Regions from separate parts of the Homo sapiens genome. Here regions 1, 2, 3 and 4 are each linked to region 5. Evidence: promoter capture Hi-C in 16 types of primary human blood cells and fetal thymus (Javierre and others, 2016). All regions are on one chromosome and are shown on one strand. The core of a region is centred on a gene start or on the middle of the fragment in contact, and the rest is flanking DNA. Distances in the headings are between cores, read along the strand shown. Region 1 has its middle 49 kb from the start of MDM1. Region 2 overlaps MDM1 (Mdm1 nuclear protein). Region 3 holds the start of IL22 (interleukin 22). Region 4 overlaps CPSF6 (cleavage and polyadenylation specific factor 6). Region 5 holds the start of SLC35E3 (solute carrier family 35 member E3).

Region 1 (2,700 bases), core at 44-2,543, 370 kb after region 5:
GCATTCTTTCTTCACATTCAGCGTCCTCCTTAAAGCACACATTTTCACGTACATCTATTAAATTACCTGGGAGAGAGTTCTAGACACTATCAGTCAGTAAATCCAGTTGTCTCATTTTTCAGTTTTAGCTATTGTTGCGGTCATATGCCAAGGCTTGTATGAATGAAGGGTCTATAAAAATATCTGCTGTGGTGTGATTTTTTTTATCCTTGTATGAGACCATAGCATGAGACAGTAGACTGGCAAATTGGCAGGGCGAGGAGAGTGTTTGTGCTTACACGGGGCAATGAAAAGAGTTTTGATTCTTCTTTAGCTAAATGTTATAAAACTTTAAAGCTTACATTTGAATAATCGTTGCAGATGGGTTAGATAAAATCCATCAACTCACAATGTTTTTCCTGTTTCCATTCACTAGTGAGTAACAAGGTTAAAAGAAGGAATGTTCTATAAAATAAGATATAGAATTTGGGTTAGGTTTACAAGTGAAGAGTTCCTCTTTGCCCTGCCCCCAAATTATTTTTAGGCCCCAGGCCTCTGAAGCCAAGGTAATCTGCAGGGCAGCTTTCACATTTTATCACAAGTCAGTGGTCTCTCCTCTTCCTTGTCCCTCCTATCTTGCCGGCAAATGGCTCTGTGGGAAACCCATTCTGCTTCCTGTTTAAACTGTAGAAACAATTCATTTAATTCAATATCTAGCTTTTGATTCTATTTGCAAAAATACAGTTGTAAATAGTTCCATTCATTAGCCAATTTTTTTTTTGGTCTGTTAAGCATATTTGGGTCATTTTATAGTTAACCTTGGCTGAGGGAGAGAAGTTCTTTGAAGCTCTTACTTACTTACTTGTGAATTTTTGGGTCTGATATGGAGGCTTTGCAGGTCAGAAGCATGGCTTGACTGACCCAATGCCCATTTCTGGCTCTCTTCATCCTCGCTGACCTCTACAGTAGAGAAAGGAGAAGCTGAATATTCACTGCTCTAACCTCCCTTGAAGCAAGGGGTGGCCTTGTAACAGTTCTGGCCAATGTGGCATAAGCAGAATTCTGCTGAGGTGGGTTTTGGGAACGGCTTTTGATTTCCTAATAAAAGAGGCCAGAACTGCAGGCACTATTCTTTCCACCCCTCTTGGTCTTGAACATGGCTACAATGTCTGGATCTATAGCAGTCAGCTTGCAACTTTGAGACAATATGCCAATCTAAAAATGGTAGAGCAGAATTATAGATGAACAGATGAACCCTTGGTTTTTATTAGATCATGGAGCCCCATATTATACAGTACTGCTTCCCTTTAGACATCATACATGAAAAATAAATCCCTTTGTGGTAGGTTTAATACAAGGCCACAAATTCTTTGACACTCCTCCCAGCAAAGTCTAATTCACCCTCCCTTGAATATAGGCCAGCCTTACCCACTTGATTCTAACTAGTAGAATTCAGTAGATGTGACACTGCATGACTCTCCATGCTAGGTTCACAAGTGATGCGGTTTCTGCCTTTTTCTTCTCTCTGACATGTGCCTTGGGAGCTTTGAGCTGACATGTTAGAAGTCAGTCTACATTGAAGCTGCCATGCTGAAGAACTCATGTGGGAGAACACACAGAAATCGAGATGCCTGAGGAGCCCCAGCTGTACCAGCCTCTAGCTCTCTGAGTCTTCTCAGCAAGAACTGTCAAACATGAGAGTGAAGCAGCCTTCAGATGACTCTGGCCCCAGTCTTCAAGTGCCCTAGCTGGTGCCAAGTGGAGCAGACAAGCTGCCACCCACCAAGCCCTTCCCAAATTGCAGACTAGGAACAAAATAAATGTTATTTTAAGCCACTAAATTTTGGTTTGTTATATATTATAGCAATAGAAAACCAGAACCCCTTTTTTTAATGCCACTGTTAGTTGGATATTCTGTTACTTGCAGCCAAAAGCATCCTTATGTGAAATACTTAGTAGTAGAGAAGATTAAAAGAAATCACTAAAACGATCCTTTTGAGTTGCTATATGTGTTGATTATCCAATCTATTCCTCTCTTATTCTGTTTGTAGCAATCCATTTCACTGTAGCACTGATATCATAACTTCCCATTGAAGTCAGTGCTGCTTTAGTTGTATAAAGGTTTTATTTACAAAAGGGCTGGGCTAGTAGAAACATGGAAAAAGAGGGACTTCAATTCAGGGCCCCATACTGCTGTTTTCCTGCTCTTTTGGCATTTTGATTATAATAAAGACAATATTAGTAACTTCTTCACTAGGAGGTAAAGCTTGAGAGTTCCTAACTTTATAAAACTCTCATCAATGTTTGAAGCTGCTTTCTTAATGAAATGCTCCTAGCATTTGACAGCTTTATTTTTTTCATTGACATTTGCAGCTTTTAAAATAGATGAATATTTAATATCATGTTTAATAGGTCAGATTCTTTGAAGAAAATTTCCATTAATTAGTTCCCATTTTCTAAAGAATTGATGGTCACTCAGTATTGTTGGAATTCTTAAAAAGGTTTTAATCATAAATTTATTTTTAAGTCTGGCGTATGGAAACTAGCAAGGTTGTTCTAGGTTAATATACATATCCTTACATGGGAGCTACACTATAAATTAAAAATCTTTTATCCCAAAGTAACATAATACTATTTTTAGTGATGGAAATTCCTAAGCAGCTTTGCAATATTGTTTGGGCAGTCTTATTCTACTGCACTGAAACTTTAAACCTGAAAGAA
Region 2 (2,700 bases), core at 103-2,602, 430 kb after region 5:
GAGGAAAAGCAGGACAGAGGCAGAACAGTATGTGTGGCTGGTAAATTGATGTCAGCCGCTGGCCTGTTGTGTTTAGGCGTGACACTAGGTTGAGGTTATGAGAAACTCTTTGTTTTGAAGACTGTGTTTTCTCTGAGATTTCTACGCTTGATCTCAGCCAAAAGGCCGAGCAGCGATTTCTTTAAACTAAGATGAGTTTAGGCATCAGAACTAAACATCTAATTGAGAAGATTGTTAAAACTGAAGTCATAGTAAGATGAGATTCCTTATCCTGCCTTGATGGAAGAGAACATTGTTGTTGTCAATTTAAGATAGACTTTTCAAGGTTTCCTATTATGATATCTTGGTAATGCAGCTTTTTTTGCTTATTAAATACTATAATGGTGGTTGTAAATATTTAAATTAGTGGTATAGTTTGCCTTAATTTCTTTGAGAAAAATAATTCAAAAAGTAAATTGAAGTTGGAAAAGAATAAGAATTTTTAGCTAAGAAGTCAGTGATCATTGATGATAACAGTTTTAGTTGACCAGGTTATAGACATTTAATATGAGCCATGTTTTACTTATATCTCTTGGAAGTCATTTACTATAGGCATCTGATTATGAGGTTCCTAAATATAAGGTACAGTACTCCTTCATTTTCCCACTCCTAACATTTCAGGAAGGAGTGTATTCACACTCCTCACATGCACTCAGACATAAGTGACTTTGTTGTTGGAATATTAACTCACTTTTTGAGTCACATTAGTTTTCGAGTCCATATATCATCTTTATTTCTTTCTATGTTTGAGATATACTTTTTGAATCTGTTTATAGTCTAGTCACTGGAAATTCTATGCCAAGTCCCAGTTACCTCTCATAGAGCATTAGGGTGGTTGGTTTTATTTGCCCAGTGGTTGTGTATTTGTCATCTCCATTATAATAACCACTTGACTATTGCTTTTTAAAATGCTCACTTAAGGGATTGTTTCTTAATAGTCAGCAATTAGAACTTTTTAGGTTCTATCCTCAGAATAACTACTTAATCTATGTTAAACTTCTTTTTTTCTTAATTGTTAGGTAATCTTTTCATCATCGATTGGTTGAGGTGATTTTATTCCAATGTGTCTTCCACAAATAGGACTGTGTTTCAAGATAAAGTCCTGCATTTGAGAGATGTCCTGTAATTTGACAGACATTGTAAAGACTAGGTATAAAGTGACCCCTCATTTTGGGGGGATGGTTTTTGGGTAAAAGGAGTTTTTATCCCCAGTTTCTTGAGTTTGAATTTTCTGCATATGTTTTAAATAATTTAGTTGAACTCTTAATTTGGACAAAGAAATTCAGAAAAGGAAACATTCTACTTATAATTGTATCATAATATATAATATGATAACATTACTTGGCCCAGAAAGGTGTGTGTATGTTGTTGAGTTGGGAATGGTTTATTTCTATCCTTTTTGGTGGCTCTGGCAGTTGGCTATAGGGATTGTTCTATTTAACATTGAGTTCATGCTATTGATTTTTTTCCTCCTCTTTTTAGTAGAACATACTACTTTGGAAAATGTCAGCCTTTTAATTTTTCATCTTAGTTTAGGGCTAAAGATATTTAAAATCATATTTGTAAAATATAATATTAGCACTGAGATTAATAAAGATTGTTGATATAGTAAATTTAAAGCACTTAGTTTTAAATGTCAGTAACAAATAGAACTGAATAAATCAAAGTCTTCAGAATTTTTATGAAGTATACTCTCCCCCTCCTTTCTAAATAAAATTGACGTCAAATAAAACTGGATGACTGTGTACATGGAGGGTATTCATCCATCCTTTCATTCATCATGCATGGATAGATGCAGCTGCCTCTGCTGTCCCTTCCACCCCCACTGCCCCGTCAATCTACCCAACACAGTGCAGGACTGATTGGTCCCCCTTTTGAACTACTCCTTCAACTTACATTTCATTTCATTTGTTTATTATGGCATAGACCCCCATCAATATTATGACAATTTATGTACAGGTTGGCTCACTGAGTGCAGGGAGTTTCTTGCTTATCTTTGGCTGCCATGTTTAGCTCAGGCATACCACTTAGTCTGCACTCAGGACAGGTTGTGGGCTCAGTGCTTAAGTGCTGCGTTTTCCCTCACCTCAAGAAGTTCATAGGTTGATGGAGGAGGAGGGCATGTGCAATTAATTCCAGTAAAATTGAATATGTATTAATGGGGATGTGCCCAAAGAACTCTGAGAACACAGAGGAGGAAGTGATGCTGAGGCATGTAGGTGATGGAGTGGCCCTGAAACATTTGAAGCATGGGGGCACTTACTGGCAATAAAATCTGGAGTATATCGAGGCACTTTATAACAAGGTTCCTGTGCATTCAGAATACCCTGGTTAGAAGTTCAGTAGAGTTAATTCATGTACCTCACTTCTACCTGTTAAATGCAAAAACCACTGCTAGAAATTTTCTTTAAAGGTATAGGAGTTGATAGAAATGATAAATGAACATAGCTTTTTTTTTGGCAGTGAAGAAAATATTTCAAATTATCCTTTAGGAACTTTTTTCAGGTATGGTTCATTAGAGTAGGACTCTGTTGGGATTATATGGTTTCTTATGCCATATAGGTGCTGTCTTTTGCTTTGGCCAATTCCCTAGAGATGTAACACTTTCATCTTTGCATTCAAAATCGTACCTTGTTAAGGAGCTATGTTTCTACAATTGCT
Region 3 (2,700 bases), core at 80-2,579, 490 kb after region 5:
GTTTTTTACTCTCACTAATCTTCATTTTTGCTTCTTTCTCCTCTGGCCACCTTCACAAATGCTCAGTGTCCTCATGTGGTTCCGACCCTTTGCAGTGGCACCTTGCTTAGGTCTGTGCCATCTCAAAAAGTGGTCTAGGTTTTACAATTATTTACATCCCTACTTCCAGTTCTTCAACACTCCTGATCTTAACTAGTTGTGAGGAGAAAAATCTGATTATACAAATTTGCACTAATTCACATTCCTTCCCTCAGCAATAGGTATTTGCATTTTGATACTTGCATTTGCTTCCTTGCTCTGCGGGAGAATTTCCAGTCTAGTTTTAGGTGTATTTTTAAATAATTTGAAGGTAACGCGGAACCTCTATATTCCTATATTCCCTTCTTCAGACATCCATGTGTGTGTGTGTATATATGTATATATATAAAATGTTGCATATATATGTATATATATAGTATACACACATATATAATATATATACACACACATATATAGTTGTTATAGGATTATTTGGAAATATTATGTTGAGACTTGTGTGAAGTGTAGAATTAGGTAAAATTTTAAGATGAACTATATCCATGGTATTCTTTTATTTTAAAAAAAGTTTACATGTTAAGAAAAAAGGAGATCAGATTTTCAGCATTAGTATTTACAAACTTAAGTTGATATTGATTATAATTCAATTAATACAATTTTAAGATATATTTACTTCTGCCTTAATTGTTATGATCACTTAAAAATAGTTCCAAAAAGGGAAGAAAACAATAATTAGATTAGCCAAGACAGTTATTTTTGAAACATAAGTCTGGTTTAGAATTCAGCATGTTTAAAAATGAGATAAAATTATTTTAATAATGGAATGATCTGTTAGCTGTCATTACCATTTACTTTAAAGCAGAGGATATAGGACATGGGTCCTTTTTTTCTGATCACCTCCAATGAGATAAGAATCTATAAAGCTGGTAGGAAAATGAGTCCGTGACCAAAATGCTTACTCAGCCACTATAGGAGATCAAAACATTTTATACTAAATCTGAACTCTACTAAGACAAAACAATTGTGTTCTTTGAAAAATATGTAGGGTTTAGAAAATTTCTGGGATTTGTCTGTAAAATACCCTCCGGGCTCTAATAGTGACGTTTTAGGGAAACACTTGCATCTCAAGGTGGAAAGGATAGAGGTGGTGTTTTGTGGGCTCCTGTGGTGGTTAGGTCGTTCTCAGAAGACAGTACTGGAAATTAGATAATTGCTGATGTCATATTTTTCACAATTAAAAAAAAGTCAGTATCCTGGGGGCTATAAAAGCAGCAGCTTCTACCTTCCCCGTCACAAGCAGAATCTTCAGAACAGGTAAGCGTTTCGGCAAACTTGGTACAATTGGTTAGTTTGATGAAATACTTCTTGACTAATTTTGTTCCTTCACGTTGTCTTCGACCAGGTTCTCCTTCCCCAGTCACCAGTTGCTCGAGTTAGAATTGTCTGCAATGGCCGCCCTGCAGAAATCTGTGAGCTCTTTCCTTATGGGGACCCTGGCCACCAGCTGCCTCCTTCTCTTGGCCCTCTTGGTACAGGGAGGAGCAGCTGCGCCCATCAGCTCCCACTGCAGGCTTGACAAGTCCAACTTCCAGCAGCCCTATATCACCAACCGCACCTTCATGCTGGCTAAGGAGGTATACATCTCAATCCTGCTCTTTCTCGTTGGATCTACTTGGAATCCAAATAGTTCTTAAACTTTTCTTCAGAGCATCTCTAAGAGCTTTAGGAACCCACTGTTTATCCCTGAGGGTAGATAAATTTTCTGTTTTTTCAGAGACTCTTTGGGAATCTGGCTTTTTTTTTTTTCTTGAACTTCTTCCTTCCATTTTGGCCTTTATGATACATATGATGAATTTTTCCCAAAGAGCGGCCATTCAGTAATCCATCTGATGATTTTTTTTTTCCTTTATGCCTCTGTGCATTGTTCTAAACTCATGCACACATCTGAATTCTGCTTTTAGTCTTTATGATGTTGCTCTGGGGAGACGGGATGGGGCACATGTCTATGTATAAATTTTTTTTCTATTTGCTCAATGTCCAGACCCTTAGTCTTTTCTTCTCTTCCAGGCTAGCTTGGCTGATAACAACACAGACGTTCGTCTCATTGGGGAGAAACTGTTCCACGGAGTCAGTGTAAGCTACAGTTGTGACGAACAGGGCCGTGTGCCGTCCATGGGTACTTGGGGTGGTGGTGATGATGGTTTAGGTCTTATCCCTTATGACCCTTTCTGTTTCCCTTCCACCTGCAGATGAGTGAGCGCTGCTATCTGATGAAGCAGGTGCTGAACTTCACCCTTGAAGAAGTGCTGTTCCCTCAATCTGATAGGTTCCAGCCTTATATGCAGGAGGTGGTGCCCTTCCTGGCCAGGCTCAGCAACAGGCTAAGCACATGTGTAAGTTCAGCTCTCAGCCTATGCCCACCTACCCCTCCTTCCCTCCTTCCACAGAGACCCCCTTACCCCAACTCTCTCTCCTTCCCCCTACCCCTAAGCTAGCAGGAAGAAGTGTCTTGGCAGCAGTGTTATCAGGAGTCATTTGGGATCATAGAGTATTTGCTTTTGCTTTGACTGAGTCACATCTTGAGTTTATAGTGGTGAATGGGGTCTGGAACTTAAGTGTACAGAAGCCGCATTGGTTTGTCTTCGGAAAAAAGGCAACTCAGGT
Region 4 (2,700 bases), core at 193-2,692, 510 kb before region 5:
GTACATATTTTAATAAAAGCCTCTGAGGACTGCTTACTTTTCCTGGACTGCATTTCAAATTGACTCAGGAACTGTTTATTGCATGGAGTTACAACAGGATTCTGACCATGAAGTTCTCTTTTAGGTAACAGATCCATTAACTTTTTTGAAGATGCTTCAGATCCAACACCAACAAGGGCAAACCTAAAAAGTGTTTAAGGGGTGAGGATACAAAGTAAAAAGAGATCAATATTATTACTGTTATTCTTCTGTAAAAAGGTCTTAATCTGCTTTTATCTAAAACAACAGCTGGGCACAGTGGCTCATGCCTGTAATCCCAGCTGCTTAGAAGGTTGAGGCACGAGGATTGCTTGAGCCCAGGAGTTTGAGGCTACAGTAACCTATAATCACACTACTGCACTCCAGCCTGGGCAACACAGTGAGATCCTGTCTCTAAAAATAAATAATTTTAAAAACTAAAAATATTTCTTAACTATACGAGTACACATTTTTGTTCATCTTGTATAACATACCATAGAATTCAGTCATTCAAAATATATAATTCAGTGGTTTTTAGTATTTCACAGTGTTATAACCACCACCATAATCAATTTTAAAACATTTTCATCACCCCAAAAAGAAACTCCATATCCATTAGCCATCGCTCCCATTCCTTCCCATCCCTGTACCCTATGGAACCACTAAACCTAATTTCTGTCTCTGGACTGGCCTATCCTAGACATTTCATCTAAATGGAATCATACAATAGGAGGTCCCTTGTGACCAGCCTTCTTTAACTAGCATGTTTTCAAGCTTCATCCACTGTTACAGCATGCATCACCACTTACTTTTATGGGTGAATAATTTTCCATTATAAATATACAACATTAAAAGAAATGTATCCATCAGTTCATGGACATTTGGGTTGCTTCCACTTTTTGCTACAATAAAAAGATGTACAATATCATTAACTATTGGGGAAGTGCAAATCAAAACCACAAGATACCACCCCATACCCACTAGGGTGGCTATAATCAAAAAGACAAGTATTAAAGATGTGGAGAGGCCGGGTGCAGTGGCTCACGCCTATAATCTCAGCACTTTGGGAGGCCAAGGCAGGAGGATCATGAGGTCAGGAGTTCAAGACCAGCCTGACCAACATGGTGAAACCCCGTCTCTACTAAAAATTCAAAAATTAGCCAGGCATGGTGGCGTGTGCCTGTAGTCCCACGCTGGGAGGCTGAGACAGGAGAATCGCTTGAACCTGGGAGGCAGAAGTTGCAATGAGCCAAGATTGCGCCACTGCACTCCAGCCTGGGTGACAGAGTGAGACTCTGTCTCAATAAATAAATAAATAAATAAATATGTGGAGAAACTGGAACCATTGCACATTGCTGATGAGCACGTATTAATAAAATGGCACAATGCCTCTGGCAAATAATCTGGTAATTCCTCAAACATTTAAACATAGAGTTACTATATTAACCCAGTAATTCCATTCCTAGGTACACATCCAACAGAACTGAAAATACATGTTCACACAAAATGGGTACACAAATATTCACAGGGGCATTTTCCTTAATAGCCAAAAGTGGAAATAACCTAGACGTCCATCGACTGATAGATTAAAAGAAAAAAGTGCTATATCCATGTAGTGGAATATTACTCAGCCATAAAAAGAAATGCTGATGCATGCTTCAACATGGATGAACCTTAAAATCATTATGCTAAGGAAAAAAGCCAGTCACATAGGACTACGTATTTTATGATTCCATTTAGATGAAATGTCCAGAACAGGCATATCCAGAGCACGTTAGCAGTTGCCAGCAGATAGGAAGAGAGGAAATGGGAGTGACTGCTAACCAGGTACAAGGTTCCTTCTTGGAGTGATGAAATGTTCTGGAATGAGACAGTGGTAATGGTTGCTAAACTTCATAAATATAATAAATTATCATTGAATTGTACATTTAAAAGCCTGCATTTTATGGCATATGAATTATACCTCAAAAAGAAAAACAAATTTAAAATAATCAGAATGATTACCAATTCGTATAGTTACAGGATATTCTAAATTATTTGAGGGAGGGAGGGTCTTAGTAGCTTAAGAAGCTTAAGCTCTTTTCCCCCTAATGTTCAATATGATCTTTTAAATTATCCTTCTTATTTTAGTCAACAAGTTCTGCTGTTTGCACCAGGATTATCTTGGGTCACAACATTTAGAAAAAACTAAATTAATTTAACAAATATTTATTAAGCACCACTTCTTATACGCAAGGTACCATTCTAGAGCTGGAGAAGTAATAGAGAACAAAACAAAATCTCTGTTCTCATTAAGCTTAAAGGCTTGGAAGAGGAGACAACAAACGAGTAAAATATATCAGAGCAGAAATAAAGGAAACAGGATAGGAAGGTGCTACTTTGCACAAGATGGTCATGGAAGAAAACTCTTAAACAGTTTGAGTCCTGAATGAAGTCAAAGAGTAAGCCATGTGGATATTTGAGGGGGAAAAGTAAACCAAGAAGAGAAAACAGCTAAAGGTCCTAGGTAGGAATTGGTCTGGCCAACAGCAAAGAGACTAATGTGGCTGAAAAAGAGTGGTAGGATAGGGTTAGAAAGGTGGTGGGAAAACAGACCAGAAAGTACCTTGTAGACAATGGTAAAGAATGAGACAGACAGGAAACCATGAGAAGATTGAGCAGAATGTCATTTTTTTTTTAGAA
Region 5 (2,700 bases), core at 106-2,605:
TTTCGGAGGCCAAGGCGGGCAGATCACCTGAGGTCAGAGTTCGAGACCAGCCTGATTAACATGGAGAAACCCCGTCTTTACTAAAAATACAAAATTAGCCGGGCGTGGTGGCGCATGCCTGTAATCCCAGCTACTCGGGAGGCTGAGGCAGGAGAATCGCTTAAACCCGGGAGGCGGAGGTTGCGGTGAGCCGAGATCGTGCCATTGCACTCCAGCCTGGGCAACAAGAGTGAAATTCCGTCTCAAAAAGAAAAAAAAAAAAAAGAAAAAGACCTTAAATAAGTTACTAAGTGCTAAAATTGAGTCCACCTCCTTTTATTTAAAGATGCAGACAGCTCTAAAGTATGGTGCTGCAGACGTTTTGAGACCTACTTTATGCTACATCTTTTCACGTTTTATCATACACGATTTGATTCCCCTGGGGGAGAAAGGCTGTTTTTGTTTGAGCTTTTGCAGATATTCTGATAACACTGGACTGTACCACCCAATACAGCTTTTTTTCTTATCGATCACAGCATTTAACGATTTCCATCAAATGGCAGCTACTAAAATTCACACATGCCCACTCTTCTGGGCTGACAAGATGGCCTTTTCCCCCTCCCTAAAATAAGCCTAAAAGTTCACATGCCCACAGATGACTCATTTGTGGATTTCAAGATGAAGGGAAAGACCAGTGTGCGTTCGAATTTCCCGGGGCCAGTGCAGGAGGTGGGTCGGGAGAGCGGCGCCTTGGGAAGCTGAAGCTACTCACCAGCGTGAGCTGGATTCTGGTGGAGAAGGTTTTCTGGTAGCAGAAGGTCTGGATGGCTATGATCACCGGCGTGGTCATGGCCTTGGCCAGCTGATAGGTGCCTATGGTGTTGTTCTGCAGAGAAAGGTTAGTGAAGACCACAAAGCCACAGAAGCTGAGGGCCAGGAGGAGGAGCCTGGAGGGCGGCAGACTTTTGGGGGCAAAGATGTCCAGCTTCTGGCAGATATACAAGCCCAGCCAGGTGACCACGAAGTGCACCAGGGTCAGGCTCATGTTGGGGAAGCCGTGGTACACATAAATCCATTTGTTGAGGAACACAATGCAGATGGACACCAGCAGGTTGAACAGGAGCCCGGCGGCGATTCGCCAGTGGCCCCGCACTCGGTCCACCAGCAATGCCATGATCCCCGCGAAGCTGGGGCCGTCTAGCCTCGGAAGGGGCGCCGGGCCTGTCTCCGGCTGCCCTTCTACTCCACCGCCGCGTCCTCGCAGACGCCGACCTCACCGTCTGACCCAGGAGTGGCATGCACAGATCAACCCCGGGCGAGTAGCACTCTTAACAGAGGACACACACCCCGCCGCCGCCCTGTAAGCCAGCTAGGACGCCGCAGCACGTCCCACGCCCCGCTCATCTCCGCCCGCAGCCACGTGACTCGGGGCTCCAGTGCTTCCGCCCCCGAGCCGCTGGCTGAACGGCCGCTACCCTGCGCAGGCGCGCTGAGCCTTGGGCGCGCGACGCTTGCGTCTTTGGGTCCTATCCTCTGGGTCCCCGACCCCCTTGGTCACCTAACGCCTACCTGACTGGACCAATCTAGGACCCCTTTCTTGATGTTTGTTTCCTGTGTGTCATTGACCCGATTTGCTAGACAACTTCTCTCTGGCTGTGCAGACACTGTTAGCCAATTTTACGTATTAAATGCTGAGCAAATTTAGTAGCCCTCGCCAGAGGGGGGAAAGAACTTATTGAAAGCATGTTTTTATTTTTTATTTTTGGAAAAAGACATTCAAAATTTACTTTCCAACAGACAGCATCATCGGGTATAACTACAAGGGTTTCTCCTTAGATCATACATTCACAAAGCATTATTAGCTCAACAGTGAGAAAATGTGTTCTCTAAAGATGTCCCCTTGACAATGTAAACGAGTGCTACTGTGTTCACTTACAACTCGAGAAAAAAACGTACAACCTGGCAAAACCGTATATATATACAGCTGTCTCTAGGGGTGCATACAAATATATATATATGTTTTGGATCAGGTCAGGTGCAATGACTAAGAGATAGAACTTTGAGTAACAGTCTTGATCGACAGTAAGGTCCTTCACACAGAAGTCAGGTTCTTCCTTTCTCCTTCCTCCTTAAGTCGATAAAGAAAGATTATATATTGTAGATATTACAGGTACAAAAGGAGATTTTTAAAAAAGGAATCACAAAAACATCTTGAATGTCCAGCTGTTCCTGCCAATACATCAATTCTTAGTTTTAAGACAGAGTCTAGGATTAATTCAGCAGTCATAAAATTAAAAAGAGAGACTGTGGTACAAAAAATTTAAAATAAATGAGGAAGTAGGGCATGGTGGCGTGGGCCTGTAGTCCCAGCTATTTGAGAGACTGACGTGGGAGGATTGCTTGAGCCCAGGAGTTGGAAGCCGGGATGGGCAACATAGTGAGACCCCCATCTCTAAATTAAATAAATAAATGAGGTAGGGAAATTAAAACTTTCACACCCAGGACATGCCTGTTCCAACTTTGTAGCCTTCATGCAATGCTCAAGGAAAAAGTCTTCATAATTCCTTGGCATAAGTCACACCAAGAAAAGTTTTTAAAACTTAGTATGCGAACCTGTGATAGGCAACACGCCCTTCCCTGAGTTTCCTCTCTAGAATGAAAACCCAGTTCTTCAAGAGTAGGCACTGAGGAACTAAATTAAGTTGCCTGAAATTTCCCACT

The links. The method cuts DNA at HindIII sites, captures the fragments that hold promoters and counts their contacts. A CHiCAGO score of 5 or more calls a contact.
Region 1: a contact is called between a fragment that was not itself captured here and the fragment with the promoter of SLC35E3 in region 5, in 4 of 17 cell types (naive CD8 T cells, activated CD4 T cells, non-activated CD4 T cells and 1 more). The highest score is 9.2, in naive CD8 T cells.
Region 2: a contact is called between a fragment that was not itself captured here and the fragment with the promoter of SLC35E3 in region 5, in 4 of 17 cell types (erythroblasts, megakaryocytes, fetal thymus and 1 more). The highest score is 6.6, in erythroblasts.
Region 3: a contact is called between the fragment with the promoter of IL22 here and the fragment with the promoter of SLC35E3 in region 5, in 1 of 17 cell types (megakaryocytes). The highest score is 5.7, in megakaryocytes.
Region 4: a fragment that was not itself captured here is called in contact with the fragment with the promoter of SLC35E3 in region 5 in 1 of 17 cell types (M0 macrophages); the score reaches 7.1 in M0 macrophages.

The regions. Positions count from the first base shown.
Region 1 is chr12:68,379,555-68,382,254 of GRCh38, reverse strand. No RefSeq gene overlaps it. Among named protein-coding and RNA genes, the nearest start is that of MDM1, 49 kb to the right of the region's middle. The HindIII fragment of the contact is 1,909 bases long and covers 339-2,247 here.
Region 2 is chr12:68,317,445-68,320,144 of GRCh38, reverse strand. The region is part of intron 7 of MDM1 (Mdm1 nuclear protein); the gene reads left to right. Among named protein-coding and RNA genes, the nearest start is that of MDM1, 14 kb to the left of the region's middle. The HindIII fragment of the contact is 5,517 bases long and covers 1-2,700 here.
Region 3 is chr12:68,252,233-68,254,932 of GRCh38, reverse strand. IL22 (interleukin 22) reads left to right here and starts at 1,329. Exons shown (of 6, transcript NM_020525.5): 1 at 1,329-1,350; 2 at 1,439-1,670; 3 at 2,104-2,169; 4 at 2,286-2,429. The coding sequence starts at 1,485. The HindIII fragment of the contact is 7,204 bases long and covers 1-2,700 here.
Region 4 is chr12:69,254,180-69,256,879 of GRCh38, reverse strand. It overlaps CPSF6 (cleavage and polyadenylation specific factor 6), which reads right to left. Exons shown (of 10, transcript NM_007007.3): 4 at 38-183. Among named protein-coding and RNA genes, the nearest start is that of CPSF6, 16 kb to the right of the region's middle. The HindIII fragment of the contact is 1,296 bases long and covers 795-2,090 here.
Region 5 is chr12:68,744,831-68,747,530 of GRCh38, reverse strand. It overlaps SLC35E3 (solute carrier family 35 member E3), which reads right to left and starts at 1,355. Exons shown (of 5, transcript NM_018656.5): 1 at 752-1,355. The coding sequence starts at 1,153. NUP107 (nucleoporin 107) reads right to left here. Exons shown (of 28, transcript NM_020401.4): 28 at 1,722-2,700. RefSeq lists enhancers at 333-522, 883-992, 1,043-1,142, 992-1,682. The HindIII fragment of the contact is 13,773 bases long and covers 1-2,700 here.